Linked DNA regions of Homo sapiens: all the other regions are linked to region 4. The links are contacts of gene promoters, found by promoter capture Hi-C in human tissues and cell types (Jung and others, 2019). All regions are on one chromosome and are shown on one strand. Each heading gives the region's core, a stretch centred on a gene start or on the middle of the fragment in contact. The rest is flanking DNA. Distances are from core to core; before and after follow the strand shown. Region 1 overlaps NFIB-AS1 (NFIB antisense RNA 1). Region 2 overlaps NFIB-AS1 (NFIB antisense RNA 1). Region 3 overlaps NFIB (nuclear factor I B). Region 4 holds the start of MPDZ (multiple PDZ domain crumbs cell polarity complex component). Region 5 has its middle 24 kb from the start of TRH-GTG1-6.

Region 1 (2,743 bases), core at 57-2,556, 1.0 Mb after region 4:
GGCACAATTCATTCCATAGAACTTACCAGAAGCTTCACAAATACACTTGCAGTTAAGATTTTTCTGCTTCTTCCTAAAGCCAATTAACTGGTAATGCAGTTTCTGTATGTTGTCTTCAAATTAAGAATTTTAAAAATGTACTAGCAACATCTGTGTATATTTATCTTTGAGAATAATCACTATATAATTATTTCTAAAAGGCTTGCATTATTACAATGCTTTATATCATAATTGAAGTAATTCCTCTACCCCATCTAAACCAGTAATTTTGAGTCATTACCCCAAAGGTGTTTATTTTGTCTTACTTTTCTATTTCTCAAAAATAGAGAAAGTGTGTTTTAATTTCTATGATTTTTATATTATTAAAGGGTACACACTGGTTTATTAGATTTTTATATTTAGTCCATTATTATACCAGAATTTGTGCAAATTTAAAGTATGTAATAAAGATAGTGGCATATTTAGGATGCAATACTAAATAAAACATATACCATCTTTTAAAACAATTGGATATTGAAAAATAATATTTTTAGAATTTAAAAAATACATAATGTATTTTTGAATATGAACATATAAACACATTCTTTTAAAACAATTGGATAACTATTTTTAGAATTTAAAATGCATATTGTATTTTTAATATAAATTTGGAAAGATTCATATTTTTTATTGCCTCAGGCAATAGTTTTAAATATTTCCTAATTATATAAAAATAGGGAGGCTTAAATTAGGACATTTATAAAGTGCCAAATGTTGGCATTTTGTCAGATTTCATTAGATGAGAGCTGTCCCTGCACTACTTTTATTCAGGAGAGGAGAGTGCATGTCTAGTGTATTGTCCTGTAAGAGGAAAACCCAGGCATAAATAACAAGTCATGGTAATAATTTGTATTATTCATTGGTTATAGCACTCTTCAGCTGTAATTCATTATGCCTCTTCTTTAGATATTGATGGTAAAAACAAATGCGATACCATTCCTACAAGACATAGTCGCCCATCATAAAGAATTATATTTGTGGAAAAGACTTCAAGAAATTACAAGATAGGCATCTGCAGTGGAGTTGAAACACCACACTGCCCAGGACAGGCACACTGGGTCATTTTCTAACCATTGAGAGTATGGGTACAAAAATAAATATACACATGCAGTGTTCCTTCTTTCACTAACTACATGCTGCACCTGTGCACACATAGATCTGATGACATCTTCTAACATAATAAATCTCAAGTGGTTTGTGGTGTCATCAAAAACCTGAGATGGTGGTATGGCTCATAGCCTTACCAACCCCCGGCTATGGCCTTGTTAAATTTCACAAGCTAAATAGAGACAGACTCAGACTTATTCCATGCACCAACCAGAGGTTTTCAAGAGCAGGTTAAAGTGGTTTACAGAAAAAAAAAAAAAAAAAAGCCTGCAGTTATGACTCAATGTGTGAAAAATCTGCTCTCTGATTCAACAGTGGTAAATCCAGGATGCCTTCTAGCTTTAAAAAATAATGTTTATTGCAATTGTTATGAATTCTCAGTTTGAAGTATCAACGATTTCTTAGCCTATTTATGTTTTTAAGACTTATAAAAATACTATGAGCAATTAATCTTCCTATCTTGCTTACTCACACTTTTGTGCAACTTTAGAATTTCAACCATCAAAATGCCCTTAAAAAGAAAACAATAAATTGGAATCAATTTCAGCTATAATGATTAAATTGAGCATAAAAAAGCAAGTGTTTTCTGCAAAAAATTTCAGGATATTTTATGCCATATTAAGGTTTCTGAAACAACAGAATTACTAAGGTATTTTTTTTTTAACCATTTTCAAAAAACAGAGGCATCTGGCAATCCAGAAATTAGTGAGGCAACAGGATGCACGAAAGCGCTAGACAGTCTACTGATCCTTCAGTATAGTCCTGGCAAAAGACCATCCTGCCTTTTGCTCAGTGAGGCCACATTCAAAAGAAAGTCAATGTTAATTCCCCTATATTCAAATCCTGTGGCCAAATGTCCCCAGTGTCACAGATTCCTGTTGGCATATCTAGAACATGTTGATATCATTTCAAGTTGCCTTTTACTTAAAGAAGATCAATAACTATATTTTGTGTCTATATTCCGTAAGTAAGAAATCGTAGGTGCAGCCCAGGGAGTAGAGGAGGAATTCATTCCTACTACAAACACACATTGCATGCTTAGCATGGGTCTGGACCTTGGGCTGGGTGCTGCCATACAAGTATAGATAGGTTTTTGAGGATCTCTGCATTCGTGATATGAAGGCCTTCTATTCTGTTGTGCTAATATTTTCCTCCAAATTTGTTTAGAAAAGAGTAGCCTTCCCATGGGGTGTTTTGAAAACCTTCAAATAAACTCTAAATAACAACCTGTGGTTTTCTGCTCACTTTGCAAGCAGCTGATGTGGGCTTGTAGAATGAAAATAGTGTTCATATAGAAACCAAAGAAAAATGTAATTAGGGATGATAAGTCAGCTGCCCTTCTCATCCCACTTCATCCACTAAAACAAAACAAACCAAAACAAAACCCTCCTATAATATATTCAAAAGTCAAACAAACAAAGTTGGGAAAATTTTGATACCACTATGGTTCATGATGTGAGAAATATTTTTGTAAACAGAAGAAGAGAGAAGGGAGCAGTGGTAGATGGAAAAATTCAGGCACATAGAATTTACCTAGCACCCAACCAGTACTGCTTTCTTTTACCAACTTTTTGTTCGAGGATGATTGACAAGCAAA
Region 2 (2,700 bases), core at 136-2,635, 1.1 Mb after region 4:
GTGAGTGCTTCCAGATGCACTGATGTCTCAGCCCAAAATCCCACTCAAGAAACATTGCTTAGCTAGAGAGTGACTCCTCGGGAGGAAAAAAAAAAAAAAAAATCAGTCATTTTGACAAGGTCAAAATACCAAGAAAACAGCATTCCCAATTGGGAAGTTGTGGGTCAGGACAATAGTTCATTGGAACATACTCTTTTCTGTTTCTCCCTTCTTAAGCTTTTTGGCCATGGGGCAATTTTTAATATGTCCCCGAGAGCAAAAGCTCTCTGGGCCTGTGAAAACGTATACATGGCTGGATTATGGGTAAGGGTCTCTCTCATTAACCATTTGAAAATAAAGAACCTAGATAAGGGGGTAGAATAATGGAGCCAAATAATCCCACCCAAGAACAAATTATTTCAGGCAGCATTTGGCTTAGAAAGAGTAGACTACTATAGGGTCTGCAGTGTTTCATTACTGGGACTCAAGGAGCAACAAAGTTTCCCTTAGGAACTGAAAACTGGGGCAAGTGGCATGAATTCCCTTTGCTTACACCTTTGGAAAGATCAGGGGAAAAGCCAGTGAAATGAGAAGGAAGGAAGGAAGGAAGGAAGACGGGAGGCAGGGAGGAGGGAAGGGAAGGAAAGAAGGAAGAAAGGAAAGAAGAGAAAAAAGAAATAGGGAGGAAGAAAGAAAAAGAGGGAAGGAAGGCTCGTTTATTGAACCCAGGCTGCATGCCAGACATTACTTTTGGCTTTTTCATATATGCAATGCCACTTAGTTCTAAAGAGAACCCCAACTGTGAGGAAGGTGTAGCGGGCTACACATAGTCACCTAGCTAATAAGTGGCCAATTATATTCAAACCATGTGTGTCTGATTTTAAAACTCCTCCCTTCCTCTCTTGACAAGTTGTCACTACCAACTAAATATGCATCCATATACACATGTGTATATGCATGTGCATATGTGTGTTTTATAACATCGATGCTTCTTCATACTGCCCTTATCACCAAGCAACCAAACAATGAGGGTACATTTCCTATTTCTGTTTTTCATACTCTTCTCAGACTAAATGAGTTTTCTCCCTTCAGAGTTGCCCCTTATGTTGTTTTCATATGTTTTTGTCTGTATATTATTAAAGAAAGGAGGGAAAGAAAAGGGGGTGAGGCCAACGGAAATAATTTGTCCTGTTTCTGTTGCCTAGTGAGCATGGCCGGGGGGGTAGGGGAGTGGGTGGCGAGGGGATGCCACCATTTTGCCAACCCTGTACCACCTGACTGTGGGAATTCTCAGATCTGCTTTAGATAAACAGTTTAGTCCTGTTTTTCCCACAATCTTCTGACAGTTGAAATTTCCCCTGTTACTGTAAGTCAACCATCCTTGGAGAAGTTTCGTTTCAAGTAACCATGCTATACTTCTCTTGAAGGGGAATTGAAGACCTCTACCCCGGTGCCAGAGAACCCCCTACTTTCTCATTTTTCTCTAAGAGGAGGTGGAAATGGGCTGGGGCGGGGGAGAGTGCTTATGACTGAGGCTGCAGCTGCCCTCCCTATTGGATACTCAGCCTCACCCTTGCAGCCCAGTAGAGAGACGTGGCCAGGTTTTCCCTGTAGCAGACACAGATGCTTCAGAAGGAGTTGCTATTACAAAGGGTTTATTAAAAAAAAGTGTGAAAGGGATGTGGCTGTTGGCAGGGATGCTGGTTCCATGCTACAGCCTCTGCTGGCTGCAGTCTGGATTCTTGCCTTTCCTCCCTTCCCACTTTACAAAGGTTTAGGTTCACTTTATAAAGAAAAGCAATCCCCAGGCAAAAGTGTGTACAGTATTTTATTAAAGTTTGGTGGAGAAGGGAAAAGGAAGAAAAAGGCTGGATTGGGAGACAGGGAGGAGGGGGCTGGCCACAAGAGAGAGGGAGTGAGAGAAAGAGGGCAGGCATGCATGAGAGTCCCAAGCAGTGCCAAGAAGCAGAGAAAGGGCTGCTTGGGGACAAGGGGGGGTCGGGGGGGGAAGTGTGCCAGAAACCTTATAGAAAGAGAGCAAAGAACTGAACATGAAGAATGGTTAAAAACTGAAGTGCAAATGGACTTCAGCATCTTCCTGGCAGAGAGTGCTGCAAACAAAATACAAAATAGGCCACCGTGACAACTGGAAGAAACAGAAGTTTTGAGGAGGCAGTTAGGAGATGCTACAGAAATGGCCTAGCAAATAAGTAAATAAATGCCAGAGTATGCTAATATGCTGAGGACCTTTAAAGAGAGGGAGAGAGAGAGAGAAAGAGAGAGAGAGAGAGAGAGAGAGAGAAACACTAAGGTGCCTGAGACAGAGCGACATCAAGTGAAAGCAAAAACAACAGAGACAGACACACACATACATAGCCAGACCCCAAGAGAGGCACACACAGAGAGAGTCACACAGAGAGAAAGACAGAAAGGGCCGAGAGAGGGGGGTGATGGGGGTGCGAGAGTGGGGTGAGAGAGAAAGTCTCCAGCCAAATGCGGGAGACTTGGCAGGTCGACAGGAGCAGCCGGGCCAGGCAGTAACTGCACTTGCTGTGTCTAGTCTATTGTTGTCTCAGAAGGGGGGGGTAGAGGGAGTTGTTTGTTTGTTTTGTTGTTTGGCCTCTTTGTCTCTTTTGTTCCAAGCAGTTAGTTTGCTTCTTTCCCAGACACTGGGCTGATGGAAGAGCTTTATGGATTTTTTCTTAAAGGGACAGAATAAGC
Region 3 (2,921 bases), core at 271-2,770, 1.0 Mb after region 4:
GAGTGAGAGCTTATGAGGAGAAAGACCTTGCTATATTGGGTATCTTGGATTGCTGTTTCAAATTTTAAGTGCCAAATTCAAAAGCAAAAAGTTAATGGAGGATTACAACTTTAACTTCCTTATGACAGCTTCTTCCTAAATTCCAAATTTAGGGAAAAACAAGTAAGTAAATGAAAAATCCTACCAAATCTATTACGAATCTTCATGTTTGGAAGTGCTTCTTAGGTACCACCTTAGAAAACAGTAACTTTAAAGAACTAAAGCTGTAGCAATAGATGGCCTCTCTCAATGGCTCCTACCCAGCTTTAAGTCTCCAGGCACAGGCACTATAACTGTGCCTATCAGGAAGGCATTCTTCAGGAGACCTGACCGTCACTCCTGTCACTGCAATGCACAGTCCTCTCCAATTACCACGATTCTCGAACAATGCATATTATTTTGGTTCTTACAAATATGGAGATATTTGGAATTATTTTACCACACAAGAGACATTGTGCACTAAATCTGTAAATCCAAATACATAATCTAACTATTTTTCATTACAAAATTTGTAGTGCTGTATATACAGGGTGGGGGGAAGGATGCCTAATGCTGTCAGTAGAATATTTTACCAACCTTTGCTGCCTCCAGAAAGTGGGGCACTATATATTTTTAAATATTTGAAAATCATAATTGATGTAACAAATAAGCGTCCCATCCCTCCCTCCCTCTCTCCTTCTCTCCCCCCACCCTTCCCTTTGAAAAATGAGATCATATTAACTGCAATGCAAGAGCTTAGTTTGCCATATCGGAACACAGATGCCAAGCTTCCCCAGCTGGCAACTGGGGCCTCAGAGTTTAACTCTTAAATTGTCTGTTAAAGCTATCTTGTGGCAGAGACCTCATGGCATAGAGGGTGAACTTCTGGTGGGAGACTGTGTTTTCTTATCAGTGAGAAAATTGCTAAGTATCTTATCTCACAATATATGTTCCCACAAAGGTCTCATTAAGCCTAGGAGCAAGACATGCCAATAAGAGCCCTTCTTTATCTTGTGAATTGTGTATGAGCCAGAATGCAAACAAATGTGCACTAGAGTTCACAAGTTCAGTCAAGGACAAGTTGCTAGATGGGAAAACTTAACAGTGCTCCCCTAAATCAAACATGCATACCAAGTATTTCTCCTACACACAAACTCTTATGTTCCCAGAGCATTTCACAGTGCAGACACACCAAATCATCCTAGAGAGCAGCCTCATTTTAATCAATTATGAAAGCTTATTTTTTCCCATAATGGGAAATACCTGCAGATGAAGTGAAATCTATTAAAATGTTAAAATACACTGCCAACTTGCAAACAATTATCTACTTAAGCTTTTCATAAAGAAATAATTGTTACCCAAAAGGATTCTGAAATTCAGTAACTGTAGGAAGAAAATAATTCTTAGCATTTGCTTCCTCACTAATGATATGTGACAACCAGGAAGGCTTCTATTTCAAAAACAGTAATAATGATTATGACTTCCCCTGTAAATAAGTCACATTTTTCACAACTTCAAAATGTACTTCAATTATTATAACATTTAACAATAAAGCAACAAAAGTGGCCACCCAACAAGAGATCATAATTTTAAGGGTTCAACAAGGCTAAAGGAAACTACTTTTTCAGGATAGCAATGAGGTTTCTGGGCTCTCTTTAACACTCCAAAACATGTTTAATAAGAGTGCAAAGTACAGTCCAAAAATCAGTTAGGGTGACTCATTTTAAACTCTAATCTGTTACATACACGACAACAGTTGCTATCTCTTGAGATCTTTAAATGTCTTGGTGTGTTGTGACCTCTCTCTTCAAAACGCTTTCCTGCCTCAGAGAAAGGCCAATCCCACTCCCGCCCCCCGACTCCCACCACCACCACCACCCCCTTCCTTTTTTCCCCTTCAGACAGGACACAGTCTGGCAACTCAAGGCCTCCCATAGGCCAGACTTCCTTCTGTGCAGCCCTTTGGGTAGAACTGCTAATCCTTCTTATTAATTAACGAGATAACGGTGGTTAACTGAAAAGCAATATTAACGCTAACTATCTAGGAAACTTTAACCAAAATTATTTTAGGCTTTTGGTTGATTTTCCCAGTGTACAAAATTGTGCACTGAGAATTTCGTAACAGTGTGGTGCAGAATCGAGAAATTCCAGAATGACTGATTTTACCTCAGACCTTAACGCATAGGTCTCCTCTTTAAAGTTTTCTCTCTCTCTTTTTAAACATGTATTCTGTTACACATTTCTAACTAGAGAGGAAAACTGAAGTCCTCTCAAAATGTTACTATAAAATTTGCAAGAGTGGCAAGTGAGGGAACTAGAAATTGCATAGCAAATAAGCAGTGATGTGACTGAGAGCAACAGTCAGTCATAATGAATGCATCACATATCATTACGTTAGGTTTGTCCTCCACACACTTGTCATAGCACACCCTGCATCCTATAGGACACTTACATCCCAGGAAGCTGTGCTGTGCAAGGCTTGCCTGGTTTTTGTTTGGTTTTGTTTTTGCTTTGCTTTCATGAATGCAGTAACAAAGGCAATATGGGGAATAGGTAACACCTGCCCAAGAATCATTGGACGTCTTTAATATCTTTGGGAAAATAGATACCATTTAGAGCTATTTTTTCTTTAATCTGTCCCAGTTTTTTTAGACAAAACCTAAAAAAAGGAAGAGTTTTATATTAGCTAAGATTTGCTGCAGCAAACAAGCAAGCAGCTTTCATTCAGGGATTGTCAAAAACTTTCCAGTGTGCCCACTGCAATGCGGATGCCAACCAACGAATCAAAGGCATTCAGCAACTAGACAAAGAGGGTCTGATGCCAACCTCGGTGCCACTGGCAACCATTATTGGCATCAAACACAGTGTCTGCCTTTTTTTTCCCCCTCGCCTGGCACTTCACA
Region 4 (2,769 bases), core at 65-2,564:
CACTCGCCCCCAGTGACTACGGAGCGGCCTCTACCTCCCGCCGGCGCCTGGCCACTTCTCCTCCCCCGCAGTCTCCGCTTGATTTCCATGTGACTGCAGGCAAGAATAGCCCAGCCTTTGTGCCTCTGCAAAGAACGCAAACAAAAATGTACACCATCACCACCCAACAAACGCGCAACTCCGCAAGACACAAAGCGTCTCCCAAACATCGCTTCCCTGGTAACATCCGGCATCCTGGGGCTGCCAAATCGCAGACAAAGACGCCCATCAGCGCGGGGGGTGAGGAGACTAAGGGAGAGACAAGACCAACGTGCTCCCACCAACGGGAGCGGCGGTTAAAAGGGCGCCGGTGCCAGGGGTGAGGGACGGGGCACCGGTACCAATTAGCGGCTCGCCTCGGGGTCCCCGCGGCTAAGGCGAGAACGCAGGACCAGGAGCATTGCTGCCCACTCTCTACCGCAACCCGCACATCCCGGGACCACGTAACGGCGGATGGGGCGTCCGGGAGCGGCCCCTGCAGGGGAGAGCAACAGGCTCCCGCGCCCTGGAGGCCTGGTCTGCGCTCCGGGCCCCCAGGCTAACACCCCACCCCCAGCCCCCCGACACCAAGACTGTGCCCCTCTGGGTCAAGGAAAAGGAAAAACTTTTAAACCTCTTAGTCAGCGAGAGCAAAAGAAAGGGGTGGCGGGGGTGCTGAAAGGTCTAGGATTATCCACCGCGGGGCTGGGGGGAGTGGAGACTTGCGAGTAGCAAAGGAAACTTCTAGACCCCATCCTTTTAAAAAAGCCACAGCAGCGGCTTCCGCGAAGCGCCGGGCCGCGCGGGGTGGGGCAAGCGCACCGCCCCACCGCCCCACGGCCCGCCGCCACCCCTACCCCCACCCCCACCCCCACCCCCATCCCCGCCCCCACCCCCACCCCCAAGCGCCGAGCCCAGGGCGCCCGCGCACCTTCCCCGCCGGCGCGCGCGCAGGGCGCGGGGGCGCGCCTCGGCCTCTGGGCCGGGGCTCAAGCGCCGCTTACCCGGCTCGCGGCGCCCGCCCAGGGCCGCGACGCGAGGGGGCGGAGGACTGGGGAGCAGGGGTCGCCGGGGCCTCTGGATGCCTCGCCTCGCCCACGCTCACTGTCTTCTCTTCTGAAGTAACGACCCGGCGAGGAGCTTCGGATCAAAACGCACAGACACTCACGCGTGACTGAGAAACTTAATCCCGCGGTGGCCCGACGCCAGCCTAGCGCTCCGCCGCGCCCCCTCCCCCAGCGCGCGCCGCACTTGCGCCGACCGGGGCTGCCGCGGAGGCGGTGGCGGGGCCCAGGCTGCTGGGGCTGCCGTGACGCCTGCGACCGGCGGGGCGGCGGGCGCGCCTTGGCCAATCAGGGGACGCGGCCGAGCAGGCCTGTGCGGGGTTTTAAACTCGCTCCTGGGCCGCTCGACCTGGGGTGTGGGTAGTGGACTTGTGAGGTGGTCAGATAAAATATAGGCTGCTCTGTTAAATGGGAATTTCAAATAAAAAAAAAAAGGAATAATTTTAGTACAAGTATATCCCATGCAATATTTGGGACGTACTTATGCTAAAAAGTTCTTCGTTGTTTATCGGAAATTCAAATTTAATGGCAGTCTTGTATTTTTATCTGCCGATTTTGTCAACCTGCGGAAACTGATAGCCTGTTTCTAGCTCCTCAGATTTTCCTTATGTGCACTGCCCTGTGGATGCTTTCTGCATGGGTAGCTTACTGAATGGCATAGGATGCTTATGAGAAGCGCTTTAATCAGAAGGGTGGGGGCAGTCCTCTCACTTTCTAAGTAACTTTTCGCACATCAGGGTGCATTCTTAGTCTGATGATCCAATTAAAAAGCAAAAACAGTAAACATGGAAAAGTTATTAGAGTTGCATGGCCCCAGGAAGAACAGATATTCATTTCTATTTTGTGCCACTTAAGATTTTCTTTCTGTTATCCTCAATTTGGAAGTCCCACGAATTTTTTTCTGCATAAGAAACTCTTTTTCAAAATATCCCTCTGATATTAGATTATAGGACCAAAGGATACTCAGAAGTCCAATTTAGAACATTTAAAAGAATTTCTTTTAATATTCTGAATAAAAATACTTTTTTCTCATATTCCTTGGACTTTCAAACACATTCACAGCTGTTGACCTCTCTCTTCCTAGAGTCCTCCCCACCCCACCCCTCTTGTAATTCCATGCAATCACACTCTTGGTTTTGCTTCTTCCGCTTAGTCAAGGGCGGATGTATGGGCTCTGAAGCTTGTACAATTGGGAGCTCTGCTTTAACCAAAAAAAAAAAAAAAATCTTTCTTTAGAAAAATTCAAAAAATAAATGCCCATGTAAACACATTGCTAGGGTTGCTCCCAGGCAAGAGAAGGACCCGGAACGTTAAGCTACATCAATTTCCAGGTAGATCTGCCCCTGTCCCCAGGCCACTCTTCAGTCTTCTTTGCCTCCTCTCCCCCAATCTTTAGATGCTGGAATTCCTTAAAAATCAGTTACGGGCCCTCTTTTCCTTTTAACTCTTACCTCTAAATACATTTTCACTTCTAGCTTATGATCTCGTACCTACAGAATCTTACATTTATACCTTCAGATTTATCCATATATTCAAGTGTTTATTTGGCTTCCCTGTTTGCTTGTCTCAAACCTAGATTGCAAAAAAAAATGCAGCCGTGATACTTCTGCTCAAGCCTGGTCATCTTGTTCAGTGTCCCAGTGAATGGAACTGCCATAGATGCTACATGATTCCCACAAACTACGAT
Region 5 (2,925 bases), core at 368-2,867, 1.1 Mb after region 4:
AAAGATGCACATGGCAATAAGGGACATGGAATCTTCCAGAAATCCAATAACATGAGCCACGGGAGCTGGGCCTCATGGATCTGGAACTGGAAGATCATTAAGAGTCTAAGTTTAGCTCTCAAGCCTCTTTTTATTTATACAGATATACCTGAATCTGTATATCTTTATTTTCATTCTAAACCATGAACCTATTTCAGCCACTTTTTACATCTTTATTGTCATCAACTATGAGTAGTTCTTTTCATATTTGTATGTTCAGATTTCCATTATCCCTAGGGTATGACTTTCTTCCCCATGGTACCATATGGTGAGTAGAATTCTAGCCATCACACCCAAGTTTCAGAGACCACAATGGAGGCGGGAATACAGAAAAAAAGGGGACAAAGGGAATTTGCCAACTGTCACTTGAAGATTAATTTCTGGATGTGATTACATGATGCATCTGTTTATATCACTTGATCCCAATTTATTCATGGGAGGCTGAGAAATCTTATCTTTATTTTGAATGGTCATGGGTACAACGAAAGTTGGATGTTTTATTAGTGTGGAAAAAGAGTAGAAAAGATTTTGAGAGATAAGAAAAAATTACAATAGAATCAGAGGGGAAAAGTGGTTCTTAGAATAATTTTTATTTTATTTTATTTAGCAAATACACAGTACTTATTAGGTTTCAGGCATTTTTTAAAAGTGCTTCATAAATATCATTTTTTTAATCCTCATAGCAACCCTGTGAAATAGTTGCTATATTATCCCTATTTTGCAGGTGATAAAACTGAGGCACAGAGAAGTTAAATGATGTGCCCAAGTTACATAGCCAGTAAATGGCAAAATCTGGGTTTAAACCCAGCCAGTCTGGTTTAAGTACTGCCAAGAAATTGAGAAGTTACAGAAGTGTATGCCTAGTGATATACTGGTACATGTTTAAAAACTGGTTCTGTGGTGGGGAAGAAGCCCAGATTTTTAGTGTTTGTTGACATGCATGCTGTAAACATTTCCATCATGGATAAATAACCTCGAGAACATGAATAATAATAACATATAGCCAAATAACTAGGAAGTGATGAGTTTTGAGTATTTATTAGCTTGCTTTTCATATAATTTATTTAATTATAAGCTTATATAATTTAATTTTTAATAATGGCTGTTTAACAACTGGCTGGCAAATTTCCTGAAAATTGAACTATCTGTTCTTATGAGCAGGTGCAAGCCAGCCTCAGCACAGAGCTGGTGCTCCCTGTCTAGAGATGAAGGGTGTTAGGAGCAGGGGAGGGTTCACAAACAACCAGCCACACGGCTGGATTGCAGTTCTACAGTAGGATATCCAGGAATGCTAATGCCTGCCCATGCCATCCTTCACCCCTGGCCCAGGCAGCAGCAACAGACGGCTCTTTCTTTGAAGGGAGTACTTCTAGGGTTAGAGAAGACAGGGCAGTGCCCCATGAGGAAAGGGGAGCGGCAACACTCCGAAGGCCAGCCACTAGAATACTGTCTATGACACAGCTCACCTTTCCCCACTTTTGCTGAAAAAGTAGAAAGAAAAGTTAAGTAGCTTCTTCCTCTACTCCAACAACATAGTTGGGAAGGAGGAAGACAAACAGCAATCACACAAAGAAAAGAACTTATATCTCAAGAAACCAGTTAAAATAGAATTGGACTTGAAGTATAATTAATATCTTCAGTCTGATAAGAGAAGGTATTATAAACAATTAAAAGAACAGATGGTTAAGAAAAGAACTAATTAGGGATTTAGGATATGAAAAATTGATGTTAAAACCTGTTGCTAAAGCAAAAGAATGAATGTTCAATATTATGATTTGGAAACACAGATAAGTTTATCACCCAAACTTTAGTACTACTAGCCTTTTCATATACACTTGTATCTTTAACAGGAATGTCTTTTATGTGCTCTAGGGATATAGGGGGTGAGGGGCAGGTTTCTAAAGTCTGTAACCGTGTTAAGTCATTTTAACATTTAAAATTCAGCCATGCATCAAAATACAGTAAGTGACATGAGACAATCCTACCCTTCTCTGAGTTTCTTTCTTGATACCTACTATTTTCCAAAAAAAAAAAAAACTTTTCCAAAAAAAATCATTTTCCAAATGACCAAGCAGATTCTGGATATTGTTATATGTTTGCAATCTTTGCATTTTACTTCATAGCTCCATATTTTCATATTTTGCCCCACTGTAGCCAATATTTCAGTTGTCTGAGTCCTACTGTTGGGCTCTGTTATACCGTGTATCAATTGTCTTACATTTTGAATCATTTATTGGAAAGGGCCTAATATTAATGCAAAGGGCAGAGTAAACTACTATGCATAAGGTAGAAGAGGTTAGGAGATTTGGGAAGAGTTACAGTTCATCAGAGCATGATTACCTTTGCCTCTGGTAACCTCCTAAAAATAAAAGGGAAATGAAAAAGTACTTTAAAATCAGCCTTGCCTTAGATTGTGGTGGAAGAAAGTTGAGAGTGATTCAGAGAAAACAAAGAGGTTGAAGGTTATGAGCAGAGAGAAAGTACACTTGAGTCTTCTGATAGATGCTTTCCTGCTCTCCTGGGAGCATCATACTCCTTTTGCCACTAGTTTTGACACGAAACAACTCCCACTTTCCTAAACATGAGGTCTCTCCTGTGCTCTGGGGTCTACAGTGCTTGGCTCAGTGACCAAAGACCCAGACCACAAATGCACACAGAAAATGATGAATTTAAAATTCAGACTCATTCATTTCCTTCTCATTTCTATTGATACAGGGAATATAAATGTTAAAGATAATCAGTCTCTGAGATTAGTCTATTGTCAGAGTTCTGTTACCTTTGACACCTTGCAAAGGTCAGTATATTTTCCCTTGGAAGAAATATGTCAATTTTTACCAAACCCCACAATTGATGCTTTAAAAAAATCTCAATTAGTGGTAAGTAAAA

What was found. Contacts are between HindIII fragments. The study calls those that stand out against the background at their distance.
Region 1: a contact is called between a fragment that was not itself captured here and the fragment with the promoter of MPDZ in region 4, in 2 of the 25 tissues and cell types used here (dorsolateral prefrontal cortex and hippocampus).
Region 2: a contact is called between a fragment that was not itself captured here and the fragment with the promoter of MPDZ in region 4, in 3 of the 25 tissues and cell types used here (IMR-90 fibroblasts, dorsolateral prefrontal cortex and hippocampus).
Region 3: a fragment that was not itself captured here is called in contact with the fragment with the promoter of MPDZ in region 4 in 3 of the 25 tissues and cell types used here (dorsolateral prefrontal cortex, hippocampus and thymus).
Region 5: a contact is called between a fragment that was not itself captured here and the fragment with the promoter of MPDZ in region 4, in 1 of the 25 tissues and cell types used here (heart left ventricle).

Annotation. Positions count from the first base shown.
Region 1 is chr9:14,325,306-14,328,048 of GRCh38, forward strand. The region is part of intron 1 of NFIB-AS1 (NFIB antisense RNA 1); the gene reads left to right. It also overlaps a transcript of NFIB not described here. Among named protein-coding and RNA genes, the nearest start is that of NFIB-AS1, 9.6 kb to the left of the region's middle. The HindIII fragment of the contact is 3,094 bases long and covers 1-2,743 here.
Region 2 is chr9:14,341,855-14,344,554 of GRCh38, forward strand. All of the region lies in intron 1 of NFIB-AS1 (NFIB antisense RNA 1), which reads left to right. It also overlaps a transcript of NFIB not described here. Among named protein-coding and RNA genes, the nearest start is that of NFIB-AS1, 26 kb to the left of the region's middle. The HindIII fragment of the contact is 4,467 bases long and covers 1-2,700 here.
Region 3 is chr9:14,300,869-14,303,789 of GRCh38, forward strand. The region is part of intron 2 of NFIB (nuclear factor I B); the gene reads right to left. Among named protein-coding and RNA genes, the nearest start is that of NFIB, 12 kb to the right of the region's middle. The HindIII fragment of the contact is 6,370 bases long and covers 1-2,921 here.
Region 4 is chr9:13,278,378-13,281,146 of GRCh38, forward strand. It overlaps MPDZ (multiple PDZ domain crumbs cell polarity complex component), which reads right to left and starts at 1,315. Exons shown (of 47, transcript NM_001378778.1): 1 at 1,023-1,315. RefSeq lists enhancers at 1-222, 223-938. The HindIII fragment of the contact is 5,465 bases long and covers 1-2,769 here.
Region 5 is chr9:14,408,137-14,411,061 of GRCh38, forward strand. It overlaps a transcript of NFIB not described here. Among named protein-coding and RNA genes, the nearest start is that of TRH-GTG1-6, 24 kb to the right of the region's middle. The HindIII fragment of the contact is 5,394 bases long and covers 1-2,925 here.